Linked DNA regions of Homo sapiens: region 1 is linked to region 2. Evidence: promoter capture Hi-C in human tissues and cell types (Jung and others, 2019). All regions are on one chromosome and are shown on one strand. Each heading gives the region's core, a stretch centred on a gene start or on the middle of the fragment in contact. The rest is flanking DNA. Distances are from core to core; before and after follow the strand shown. Region 1 holds the start of SMDT1 (single-pass membrane protein with aspartate rich tail 1). Region 2 holds the start of CCDC134 (coiled-coil domain containing 134).

Evidence for each region. The method cuts DNA at HindIII sites, captures the fragments that hold promoters and counts their contacts. A contact is called where the count stands out against the background at its distance.
Region 1: the fragment with the promoter of SMDT1 here is called in contact with the fragment with the promoter of CCDC134 in region 2 in 1 of the 25 tissues and cell types used here (neural progenitor cells).

The regions. Positions count from the first base shown.
Region 1 is chr22:42,075,079-42,081,437 of GRCh38, reverse strand. SMDT1 (single-pass membrane protein with aspartate rich tail 1) reads right to left here and starts at 1,738. Exons shown (of 3, transcript NM_033318.5): 1 at 1,484-1,738. The coding sequence starts at 1,669. It overlaps PHETA2 (PH domain containing endocytic trafficking adaptor 2), which reads right to left. Exons shown (of 3, transcript NM_001002034.3): 2 at 5,786-5,867; 3 at 2,000-4,158. The coding sequence starts at 4,144. The coding sequence ends at 3,365. It also overlaps the pseudogene SNORD13P1. RefSeq lists enhancers at 1,221-1,993, 3,234-3,796 and silencers at 2,019-2,313, 6,139-6,359. The HindIII fragment of the contact is 9,212 bases long and covers 1-2,899 here.
Region 2 is chr22:41,798,288-41,805,177 of GRCh38, reverse strand. CCDC134 (coiled-coil domain containing 134) reads right to left here and starts at 4,499. Exons shown (of 7, transcript NM_024821.5): 1 at 4,412-4,499. MEI1 (meiotic double-stranded break formation protein 1) reads right to left here. Exons shown (of 31, transcript NM_152513.4): 31 at 5,724-5,924. The coding sequence ends at 5,879. RefSeq lists silencers at 4,477-4,536, 5,127-5,216 and enhancers at 4,687-4,766, 4,837-4,916, 4,692-5,678. The HindIII fragment of the contact is 18,239 bases long and covers 1-6,433 here.

The sequences.
Region 1 (6,359 bases), core at 489-2,988, 280 kb before region 2:
ATCCCAGCACTTTGGGAGGCTGAGGCGGGCGGATCACGAGGTCAGAAGTTCGAAATCAGCCTGGCTAACATAGTGAAACCCCGTCTCTACTAAAAATACAAAAAATTAGCCGGGTGTGGTGGTACATGCCTGTAGTCCCAGCTACTCAGAAGGCTGAGGCAGAAGAATCACTTGAACCCGGGAGGCGGAGGCTGCAGTGAGCCAAGATTGTGCCACTGTACTCCAGCCTGGGTGACAGAGTGAGACTCCGTCTCAAAAAAAAAAAAAAGGAGATAAGGTGACTGTTATGGCCATCAAAATGGACGAAAAGTCCACTGGAAAGAAAAGTCTAAGGCACCCTAGACATCTAAAGTTAGGACACAGCCTGCTAATTACTTTAAATCCCTACAGGCAATCGGGTGCACCAGTACTAGGAGGGCCAGACTACGGTGAGCTCTGCCTGAACACGAAATACACGAAAACCGATGACAGAAAGATGTACAGTGAAGGGATATTCTACACAGTTCACTAAGTAACAGGTTCCCTGATGCCTGAGAAATTTGATTTAAAAATTTTAGAAACAGATGTATTTGAAAGTGGGCATGTATTTACACTCAAAGACTTTAGATGGATTGGGAGAATGTCAGTAAAATCTCAGCAACATTTCTCTCGTATTCCTAGAATTAAAAAAATTTTTTTTTCAACTGTTTTGATAAGGCAGGTCTTTCCCAACATGGACCTACAGTCAATTGTGTGAGTTAGCATAGGCTAGACTAGCTTTAAGAGAATTTGTTTTTTTAACTCCCACACCACACAGCCCTGCAGTCGTAAAGCAAACTTTCGCTTGATATAAGGGACTGTTTCCGTTTTCCCTAGAAAAACTCAAGCATGTGATAGCGTTCAGTGTTGGAAAAAGACAGGACCTGGTGGGGACGGTACCAGGAAGAAACCCGGATGCTGCGTCCTCAGCGCTGGCCTTGGATACGAGCTTCACCGCTCTAGCCCGATTCTTCATTTGAAAACCCGTGATTGTAATAATTCCCTGCACATCTATCAGGACTGTAAATCACATGAATTAAATATTAGGTGACAACTAATAAAAAGATGAGGCCCGTCCCACGTACCCTTTATTTACAGAGTCCTTTCAAAATTCATATTTCATCCCATAAACTAGGAGACAGGCAGGGCAGAGATTACAGGACTGCTCTAAGCTAGAAGCACACGGCCTAGTCTTCTGACTCCAGAGGAGCAGAGCACCGCACCTCTCAGGACAAGCTAATGTAAAAGGCCAACTTCCTCAGCGTTTGCCCCCCATCTTCTGTCTACCTACCATTTTCTACACACCTGTCAAAATTAGCAACTCATTAGCGTATTCTTGGTCCGCCTTCCAGTCTACGGTAATCGTTATGATTGGCCTTGGCTCCTATCAATCAGCGCCGCCCTCACGCACTCCCCACAATGATTGGCCTCAGCCCCTTCGCCCCGTCTCCAGGAGGACACTCACTTTCACCGGTTTGGGCAAAATGGCGCCGCTGCGGGTAACGATGACTGACCTCGACGGTACCAGGCTCCGGCCTGAGCCGCTCCATGCGGCGGAGACATCGCCATCTTTCCTCAAGCTAGGCCCGCTCCGGAGAGCCCCGGACCTGACGGGTGCCAATACTAGCCAGCGAGCCGCTCCGGACGCCATGCCCCCAGCTCCGCCCCTCACCCGGGCACCCGCACCCCACCGCCCAGCCCTCGTGCCGCCCTCGGGAAGAAAGCCGCCCGAAGCCTCGCGAGAGTTTGAGGAGTACACGAGAAGCCCAGCCCTCCCACTCGCGCAGTGCCGGCGGCTCCTGGGGCGGCGGGAGGGAGGTGTTTGTCACTGGCCGGCATGGTGGCGTCACGAGAGTGGCGGCGCAGCCCCGGCTCCCTCAGTCCGCGTCCTGCTGGGCGTGGCCGCGGTCTTGGGTCCGCCCGGCCGTCAGAACAGGCCTCAGCGGCCGGTTGTGGAAATAAACCCAGGGAGCGGAAGGAGTAATAACGAAAAAGCTTTACTAGTGTTTTAACCGTGTACAAAACACTGTAGCAATAAGAGAAAGGCCCGTGCTATCTGTGTTTAAACAAAATGCAGTGGCTGCGGGGCTTCCAGGCAGGGCTGGGGAACAGGCCGGGCGCCCGCCTTGGGCGCATCTCCGCCTCTTAGGGGTAAGAGGCTCAGAGCCTACCCCTTAGGCCTAGTTGGATGCGGGTCGGTCCTGCCCAAGGCCCCAGTGAGGGGAGCCGAGGCTAGGAAGGGGCAAGTTTTATGTGTTTGGGAGGGGGTGTCTCTTCCCGGCCTCTGCGTCTTCCCCCTGGAGCGTCAGTATGGTCAGGCTCTGGTGACCCAGCCGCTTTGCCTCCCGACTTTGGGAAGAGTAGCAAGGAGAGGTCCTGGCAAGTACACCCTGGGTGACAAACGGCTATGAGAGTTCCCAGGTGATTTCTCGAGCAGCTTCAGTTTACCGGAGCCCAGCCAGGAGAGAGAATTTTAGCACAGGAAACGCAATCCCGTGTCCAAGCTCCTAGAATACCCAGGACTGAGAACCAAAGCAACAGACTTTTCCCAGGGAGCCACACTGCCTCCCCACCTCTTCTTTAACCCCTCACTTGGCAGCTCCAGGAGTTGGCTGCTGAAGACAGAGTACAGGAGGGCATTTCGTTGACGTAAAAAAGCTACAAGCCCCTTCCGGGGCAAGGTCCAGCACCATCTGTTAACAGGGCAGCCAGGGAGAAAGGATGGGACCCCAGCACTCTGAGCAGAATAAATCTCTCTTCACTGGCCGAAGACCCTCTGCCTCAAAGGGCCCTACCCAGACTGCTGAGTGAGGATCCCATCCCCAATCTTCCCACCCCTCTCAGGAAGAGCTGGGTCCCAGAAACTCCTATGACACAATAAATCCACTTTCTCTGACAGTGTCAGAGCTTCAAGCCGATACTGCAGCCTACCTCGGATTTAAGTGCACAGGAGACTCCCCAGGTTGGAAATTATGGCTCTAGAGCCCGGTGTGTAGGCCAAAGGTATGGCAAGCCTGTGACAGTCTCGGGTGACATTCCCCACTTCCTTCATTTCATTAACATCCCCTGGGAGGGGGCAGTCAGGCCAGTGCAGTCAGGAGATTGGGGTCTTGCTCTGTGGCTGCTAAGTCTCCTTCCTTCTCTGGACCTCAGGAAATAAAGAGGATGGAAGGAATGGTCCCGCAGTCCCTTCCAGACACACGGGTGGATCTCGAACCTGGAGAATGCCTAAATAGCAGGAAGGAGAGAACCCATGTCCCCTCCCAAAACGCAACCTTGGAAATGGGTAAACATTTAACTCCTGAAAAAGAACTGGCCCTGGTTTCCTGACTCAAAGGGCCCAGACTTAGGGCCTATCCTGTTCCTCACATTTTGAGTGGCTCCCCTGGGCCCTCTTCTGCCAACACTGCCGCAGCTCCACGATCTCCTGGCCATACCAGTCATGCAGGGTAGAGAAGCAGGAGGTCTCAGGGGACACAGGGCTCTGCCCCTTGCCTAGGAGGAGGCTGGCAGGGCCCTGCAGCTCCCACTCAGCCAACCCCCACCCTGCAGACCTGCTGCCCGCTTCTTCAACCAAGCCCACAGGGCTGCTGTCCTTGGAGAGGCAGTGGCCATTCTCCAGGCCCGCAGCTCGGTGGTTAGGAGCCTGGGGCTTACAGCGGCTGGCAACAGACTTCCAGGATGAGCGGCGTTGCAAAGCCAGGCTCTGGCGTGCGTCCTGCAACTGGCTCTCCAACTCGCGTACCACCAGGCGCATGTAGCCAAAGCTTGCCCGGGACAGCACCTTCACCCAGGCCTCCTGGGCCGCCGGCCCTTCTGCGGCCAGCAGGTGTGGGCGCACTCCAGGGGCATCAAAGCAGATGGCAAAGGCAAACTCCTCGGGCACGGGAGCCTCGGCCAGTTCCACTGTGCAGCCTTCCAGCACCACCAGGCTCAGTGGGGCCCGGCCCTCGCGACTCTCAAAGGAGAATAGCAGGTTGCCCTTGAGGACAAACCAGCATCTTCGGCCAGTGCCACTGGGGGTCGGTGGGGTCCCTGGGCCCCCCCAGGTGCGCAGGAAGCCCATGTGGTCCGCTGGGGAGTCGCTGAGTGCATAGTGGGCTACACTCCTCTCGTTCAGCTTCATGGCTCCCACGGGAACTGTGAGGCAAGAGAGATGGCAGCAGATCAGAGAGGGAGGTGGTTCCGTGCCCTCCTGGGGAACAGCACCGGCTCCAGAGGCAACCTGGACCCCAGCCCTGGGACTCCTACTCGCTTGCTGTGTCCCTAAGGTCCCTAAAGTCTCCTGAGAAGTGGGCTCGTCTTTCCTTCCTTTTCTCTCAAAGGGATGTCGTGAGGATCATGCAAAAAAAACTGGACACTGGCGGACTTCGAGAAAAGAATAACGAGATTGCATCAGACAGGAGGCATGGCAGGACCTGGGCACGGCTTTCTAAAATCCAAAGAAACAGGCCCCAGCTGAGCTGAAATGGACCCCAGACCCATCGAAACCACTGTGCTTAAACTATCCCCTCATCTGGGGTCCTCTCAACTCCAACTCTGAGGCCAAGCTTCCAGGGTTTCCATGACCCTCCTGGGCCTCTACTGGCCTCTTATTTGCATATAGCTGTTGAATCTTATTGACCTACAGGCAGAAGCTGAGGCACAAATATAACTTTAAAGAGTTTACTTGAGCGAGAGTAAGGATAACTGCCCAGAACAAACTTCTAAGTTGCCGTGGGGTGTGCTGCGTTGGGCCTTTCCTACAGGTTTTTATAGGCAGAAGGGGGCAAGGATGACAAAGTTGTTTGGCAGGAATTCTCCTTGGTTTATAGAAATAACATTGATTGGTGGGGTGCGGTGGCTCACATCTGTAATCCCAGCACTTTGGGAGGCCGAGGTGGGTGGATCACCTGAGCTCAGGAGTTGGAGACCAGCCTGGCCAACATGGTGAAACCCCGTCTCTAAATACAAAAATTAGCCAGGCACGGTGGTGGGTGCCTGTAATCCCAGCTACTCGGGAGGCTGAGGCAGGAGAATTGCTTGATCCCAGGAGGCAGAGGTTGCAGTGAGCCAAGATTGTGCCATTGCACTCCACCTGGGTGACAAGAGAGAAACTCCATCTCAAAAAAAAAAAAAGAAATAACATTGATTAGTGATTGGCTATACATTGTTGAACTATAGGGTATGAACTATAGGGTGTCCAGTGTACAGCATTTTATGGCTACTTGGTGTCACTCTAGAGCCACATAGCAAGTGGCTTCAAGAGGTAATTCTTGATCCTTTTGTAGTTCATGAGCGTGATGATTGGGTGTTCACATGCATGTGTGAGCTGTGCCACCCTCGAACCTTGTTACCATGTAGGCACATTACCGATCTGACATGAAGAAAAGAAAAGAAAAAAAAAGAAAAAGAGATAATTCTTTAGCTCAAGGGAGGAGTAAGACTTGACAGCTGTTGCGTTTCAGTATGTCTGGGCCTGATTATTTAAAGGGGCTCCAATTCCTCAGATAAAACATTATTTTTCTGTCTCAATCTGCAGCCTTCAGGGCCAGATGGGGAGCTACTCTGTACACAAGAGTGTGGCACAAACCCAGGGTACAGCTGAGAAGAGCTAACCACAGCCATTGAATGTGGGTGCCCCCAGCATCATGAACGGCACTTAGTCCAGCTGTCCTTACTCATGGAAAACCAAGGCCCAGCGCAGTGAGGGGAACTTGCCCAAGGTTACATGGCCAATGAGACGCAGAGCTTCGTCTCCCAAATCCCTCACACTGTACCCACTTACCAGCAGGGCTCACTGGGGGAGGGCAGGGACCTCTTGTCTGGCCACACAGCTCAGCCCTTCGACCACCTGGTTCCCAGGGAACCTGCAAAACAATTCTCAAGCCCAGTCAGCTTATCCCAAAGAATGAGAACTCCTACTCCACCTTCGAGGCCTAATGAAACCACAGCCTCCACCGGGAAGCCTTCCCTGACCCCTGAGAATCCCCCCACCCATCCACCCAGCCAGGAACCCCTGAGCAGCTTAAGGGGATGGGTCCCCTTGTCTTGACCTTTACTCTTCAGACCCCAGCTCCCTGCCTGAGTCCAGGTCAGAGCTACACATGCCCTCATGGTTCCTAGCTTTTCCCTTCTAGCACTTCCTGGCTTTAACTGAAGTCACCTAATCTGGGAGGCCTTCCATGATCACCATATCATCTAAGGTGGCCCTGACCACCAAGGTGGCCTGACCTAAGGTCACCTGACCAGTAGACCCCCCCATTTCTGGTTTGTTTCCTTCATCCCACGACGATGTCATATGTGTTTACAGCACTGTTCCCAGCCCCAGAATGTCTAGGGTGGGGCTCAGCTAAGTTCCC
Region 2 (6,890 bases), core at 3,250-5,749:
ATTACAGGCGTGAGCCACCATGCTGGTCTATTCATGAGTATTCTTACGGCAATGTGGTTATTTGCAAAAGTCCAGTAAGACTTTGCTCTCTCTCTTTTTTTTTTATTTTGAGACAGAGTCTCACTCTGTTGCTCAGGCTGGAGTGCAGTGGCACGATCTCAGATCTTGCAACCTCCACCTCCCAGGTTCAAGTGATTCTTGCGCCTCAGCCTCCCCAGTAACTGGGATCACAGGCGAGCACTACCATGTCTGACTAATTTTTGTATTTTTAGTAGAGACAGCGTTTCACCATGTTGGCCAGGCTGGTCTCGAACTCCTGGCCTTAAGCGATCTGCCCACTTTGGGCTCCCAATGTACTGAGATTACAGGCGTGAGCCACTGTGCCCAGCCTGTTCTCTCTTATAACAGAATACAACAAATATTGCTTATATTACCAGGGCTTTAACTAGAATATCATACTTGAGAATGTACATAGAAAGCCTGCCTTCAAAGATTCCCAGCCTTACAGTGAATGAGTAAAATCTGTCACTTCCTGGCAGGCCCAGGAACCTTAAGACTGTTAAGTAAAATCTAAAGTCTGCCTTGGTTTTGCTTCCTAGCCTTAAATGGTTTTTAAATCTGTTATTCCTATGTGATCACTGTAAAGAGAAAATTTTGTTTCTAAAAAAAGCTATAGTACATCTGTTATTAGACTGCAGCCCTGTGCATTGTTTTTGAGTTCTCATTATCTACTTGTATACTGGACTAGCTCCTGAATTCTAGATTCCTCCAATCTAACTTTCTTTCATGAAATTATTAAAAATTGGCACTGCTCTGTTCCTGAAGCCCTGTAAGTTGAAACTAGATGAACTTTAAGGTACAAGCCTTGTGCCTAATGTATGGGTCACACAGGAAGTTCACCAAACATCCCAATGCCATAACCAGAGACATTCAAACTGCAAACCAGGATAAGAAGTTGATGGTTTCATACTGTAGATAGCTTTTCCGAAGACACTGGAACAAGATTCCATATCATTTTGAGACTCTTACTCGTTTCTTTTTTTTTGAGTAGGAGTCTGGCTCTGTCGTCCAGGCTGGAGTGCAGTGGTGCAATCTCGGCTCAATGAAAGCTCCACCTTCCAGGTTCACGCCATTTTCCTGCCTCAGCCTCCCGAGTAACTAGGACTACAGGTGCCCGCCACCACGCCCGGGTAATTTTTTTTGTATTTTTTGTAGAGACGGGGTTTCACCATGTTAGCCAGGATGGTCTCCATCTCCTGCCCTCGTGATCCGCCCGTCTCAGCCTCCCAAAGTGCTGGGATTACAGGCGTGAGCCACCACGGTGGGCCTCTCAGAACTATTATGCAAACTGAGATTATCACATTGCTATTACTTCCTATTTTCCTATTTATTTATTTTACATTATTTTTGGAGACAGAGTCTCACTCTGTAGCCCGAGCTGGAGTGCAGTGGCACCATCTTGGCTCACTGTAACCTCTGCCTCCCGGGTTCAAGTGATTCTCCTGCCTCAGCCTCCCGAGTAGCTGGGATTACAGGTGTGCATCACCATGCCTGGCTAATTTTTGTATTTTTTGTAGAGACGAGGTTTCATGATCTTGGCCAGGCTGGTCTCGAACTCCTGGGTTCAAGCAATCTGGCCATCTTGGCCTCCCAAAGTGCCAGGATTACAGGGGTGAGCTATCGTGCCCAGCCCTATTTTCTTTTTAAACTTTATACCTATTACTTTTTAAATTTTTGTTGAAGTATCACTCCTGACAGAATAATGCTGGCCCAGAAGTTTGCAATGACAGCAAATGCCTATGGAACAGCCAAAATTGAACTTAACAATGAACTCCAGGTAGACATACCTTGAGAGCCACTCCTTCCAAACCTCCCTTGCTGCTCAAATGTGGCTAAAAGGTATTTGGGGTTTTTTGAGGCAGGGTCTCGCTCTGTCACCCACGCTGGAGTGCAGCGGTACAATCATAGCTCCCTATAACCTGAAACTCCTGGGCTTAAGTGATCCTCTACCCAACTGACTCCCGCACACTCCCCAACCAATGCCCAGATAACTTTTTTTTTTTGAGACGGAGTTTCGCTCTTGTTGCCCAGGCTGGAGTGCAATGGTGCGATCTCGGCTCACCGCAACCTCCACTTCCCAGGTTCAAGCGATTCTCCTGCCTCAGCCTCCCTAGTAGCTGGGATTACAGGCATGTGCCACCACGCCCGGCTAATTTTTGTATTTTATTTTATTTATTTTTTATTTTTTTATTTTTTATTTTTTTGAGACAGAGTCTTGCTCTGTCGCCCAGGCTGGAGTGCAGTGGTGCGATCTCGGTTCACTGCAAGCTCTGCCTCCTGGGTTCACGCCATTCTCCTGCCTCAGCCTCCCAAGTAGCTGGGACTACAGGCACCTGCCACCACGCCCGGCTAATTTTTTGTATTTTTAGTTGAGATGGGGTTTCACCGTGTTAGCCAGGATGGTCTCGATCTCCTCACCTCATGATCCGCCTGCCTCGGCCTCCCAAAGCGCTGGGATTACAGGTGTGAGCCACCGCGCCCGGATGTTATTTATATATATTTTTGTATTTTAGTAGAGACGGGTTTCTTCATGTTGGTCAGGCTGGTCTCGAACTCTCAACCTCAGGTGATCCGCCCGCCTTGGCGGTTGCCCAGGCTGGTCTTGAACTTCTGGACTCAAGTGATACTCCCTCCTTGACCTCCCAAAGTACTGGGATTACAGACGTGAGCCCCTGCTCCCAACCACTACAAGGGTTTTGACACTGACTCCTAGTCACCAGTCTCCAACTGGAGACTCCTAGTCTCCAACATGGCAAGAGACCAACAACCCAAGATAGGTCCGTCCCAGCACTGAGGGACCTAACTACAGGATGACTGATCAGTAAAGTTTTTGGAGAAAGATCTTGACCAAAAGGGGGAAATATGAAAGTTGTTAGAATCAAAACAGAGTCGTTTGTGTTAAAAACTCTGACAAATTTAAAGCATGATTCTCCAATGGGAAAAAACAAGAACAACAACTCTGACAAATAAAACCGAGGAAGGTTGTGAAAAGAGGGTTCTTATGCACAAATGACTGATAACAAGATCACAAAAAATGCAAAAACCACAACCCTGCACAAAGGCCACTGCAAACTTACACAGAAAAATCTTTCTGTGAGGACATCTGCCCTGCAACTGCCTGTCCAACCTCAGACTAGCACCACTCTTGCTATTCATCCTTGTAGCCAAGGATAACTATCTCAAAATAATCATGTAATCCTCATTTTTCCTTTTCAAAACCTTTGTCTTCCTTTACCTCCCCAAATACGTACACAGGTTACTATGGCACACATATTGTCACTACAATGTCTATTCCCAAGTAAACATCATTTTTTTAGAGTCTCTCACTCTGCTATTTAGGTTGACAGTACCTACCACACTCTAGGCACTGTTCTAGAGGCGGGAATACAGCAATAAATAAGCAAAAATCTCTGCACTCATGGTACTTGTCTCTAGTAGGGATAAGAGTTGATCAATAAACTTGTAAAATAAGCACAGAGGGATGAGAGGGTGTCGGTCAGGTACAAGATTACATAAAGTGGTCAGGAGAGGTCTCACACTCAGATTACAACTCCCCAATGTTACCAATGTGAAATCAAGGCACAGAAAAATGAGGTGACTGCCCAAAGTCACACAGCTATTCCCAGGCTGAACCAAGTGTCTGTTTGGCTCTAAGTCCAGTGCTCTGTCTTCTGACTCTTTGTAAATGAGCACAGGCTACCTGAGATCAGAGCTGGCTACTGAACTACCAGGACACCTGCCCCAGGGGAGAGATGCTCAGTTACAGACAGTGAGGGGCTGCAGAGATCATCCGGAGAACCCCCTACCCCCAAGCAGACGAGATAAGTGAAACCTAGAGAAGGAATAGTCCAAGTTCACCCAGGACCCTCCACATTCCACCTCCTGCTCCAAACTCAAGGGAACCAGAACCAGGCTAGGGCAAAACTTTAGGGGCCAAGGAGAATACCAGACAGCTGGCAATGACTGAAGCAGGTAGTGGGAAAGAAAAGCCAGAACAGCAGCCTGCGGGACAGGTCCTGCTTTCTCTACTGTTAAACTCACTTTTTCAGCCTCTCAATCCCGATCCTGCCGTATGCGTCACCCGGAGCTCCTCCTGGCTCAGCATGAGGCTCTGAACTCCTGCAGAGGTACCAGGTAGTGGCGGGCCTTGAGCCAGCTACCGGGGTCGGGGGCCCAGGTGGTTGACCCCGAGCCTTCGGAGCTCCCGGAGGAGGGAGCGAGCCTTCTCAAGGAACAGAGGCGTCCAGGTCCACGAAACTCCCTCCCCACCACCTGCAGCCGGTTCGAGGCCCTCGGTTCTCTCATTATCCTTCCCGGGAACCTGCAGCCCGCGGCCCCTACAGCCACCTACCTGGCCAGTCGGTGCAGGAAGGGCAGGTGGCCGAGTCCTGTGCGAGCAGCTAGGCTCGAAGGTCCAACAGGCTAACAGCAAAGCAACTGAAAGCGGGAGCAAACGGCTAGCAACCGAGCGCAGACCGCCGAGCTCCGTCCCGCCCACCGCGCTGCTCCCGGCCAATGAGCGCGAGCCGCCACTGCGGGGCTCCGCTAGCCTCACTTCCGGCCCCGCTCCACCGCCCCTGCCTGCCCCTCCAGGCTCTGGCGTGCCTCCAGCGCGCTGTGGGCACCATCCTCGTCCTGTCCCTCCTGCGGGCCCTGGGTACGTGGCCCTGGATTTAGCTTGTGTTGGAGGAAGTTAAATCTGTGGGTGGGGTCTGTGCCCAATTTAAGGCGTGAATCAGCAAACTGGGGTCCCAGCTCCTGTCGGCCGGGCGACCTTCTGCGCGCCCTCCCTGAAACTGTGTCGTCGTCTGTGGCCGAGTTTTTAAACTTTAGATCGCAACGTGAGTTTAGTGGGCGGTGACTAGCACTTTTGTTCTTCTTTAAGGACCTCAGAGACTCAGTGCAGGATTCGGGCATCCCCTCCTTGCCCCTCCGGTCCACCAACTAATAAGCCAAGTGCGGCGGGGGCTTCCTCGTCCGTTCGTTAGGCCGAGTGCAGCCCCACTTTTGCGCAGGATCAGGACAGTCAGACCCGAGAAGGCAGCGTGGCGTGGCCATCTCCGGGCCCGGGGCCCCTGCCGGGCGGGAAGGGAGCTGGAGGCCCGGTCTGGGCTGAGCTCCCCAGAACAGGCGCAGGGCAGGCACTGTCGAGCGCAGACCTCATGCCGGGGACCAAGCTGGACATGCATTCCCAGGATCTACCCACGAGGGTGCATAAACACCAGTTCTGATGACGGCTGTACGGGAAGGGACAGAGGTGACCTACTTTAGCCAGACAAGGGCTGAGGCTGGGACAGTTTCGTTCTGATAGGAAAGCTGAGAATTTGACCCTCCTTGCCTGGAAAGTTTACCTCTATCCACCTCCACGTGAGGCGAGGGAGCAGGTCAAGTGCCTCTGGGAGCTGTTGAATCGCAGCAGCCCCAACCCCTAGGCCTTTCTCTGCCCTGCCAGCCCCAGGATGGCCTGACTGGTGTTCTCTGAGTACAGCTGAGGCACCCAGCTGACTCCTTGAATGCTGTTACAAGAACAAATCCTGTCCCGTCCCTCCTTCCCTGAGGAGGCCATCAGTCTCCTTGCTGAAACAATCCCTTATCCAACTGGCTGAGAAACCAGCTCCTGGTAGACAAGGTAGTACAGTGTTTTTGGAGAGCTCGCGCAGGTATGTGAGTGTATCATTTTATTTCCTTATTCTATTTCAACAATAGAGTATATGGCTCCATATGAATAGCTTCAGCTGTCATCCATTTCCCCAACAATTATGCCCTTTGTCTCCAGGTCTCATTCTCTCTCCACTTCTGGGCCTTCAAGTCCTGAGGATCAGTTTCTGATGTGGGACAGGGATACAGCCACCCCTCCCAGGCAGCTGGCAGCAAAACATGAGAGGAAAACAGCAGAGAAGTGGGGCCAACCATGGGGGCATCACACTTCCAGAGCCCAAAACAGTCAAGAATGGTCAGGCAAGAACAGAAGTGCTCCTGAGAATAGTGGGATGGATTCTGAAATTGGGTCCTGAACACCTGGGCTAGGTAGTTGCTATTCAACAGGGAACTATTGCACGGAAGGGGCAAGGAAGAGAGCCAGGGAGGCAGCCAGAGGGGTGCAGAGGAAGCAAACTACCCTCACACACACCTCTGGACTGCAGTATCTCTGGACTGCAGTGTCTCTGGGTGCAACCAGCCACCTACCAGAGGGTCTCTGACCACTGCCACAGCCCCAAGCTTGCTTTTTTTTTTTTTTTTTGAGACATAGTCTCACTCTGCCACCCAGGCTGGAGTGTGCAGTGGCACAATCTCGGCTCTCTGGTCACTGCAATCTCCACCTCCCAGGTTCAAGTGATTGTCCTGCCTCATCCTCCCAAGTAGCTTGGATTACAGGCATGCACCACCATGCCCGGCTAATTTTTGTATTTTTAGTAGAGATGGGGTTTTACCATGTAGGCCAGGCTCGTCTCAGAACTCCTGACCTCAAGTGATCCACTCACCTTGGCTGGGATTACAGTGTGAGCCACTGCGCCCGGCCCCCAAGCTTTCTTTTTTTTTGAGACGGAGTCTTGGTCTGTTGCCCAGGCTGGAGTACAGTGGCGCGATCTTGGCTCACTGCAGCCTCTGCCTCCCAGGTTCCAGTGATTCTCCTGCCTCAGCCTCCTGGGTAGCTGGGATTACAGGCTCATGCTACCACGCCCAGCTAATTTTTGTATTTTTTAGTAGAGATGGGGTTTCACCATGTTGGCCAGGCTGGTCTCAAACTCCTGAGCTCAGGTGATCTGCCCACCTTGGCCTCCCAAAGTGCTGGGATTACAGGCGTGAGCCACTGCACCCGGCCATCCAAG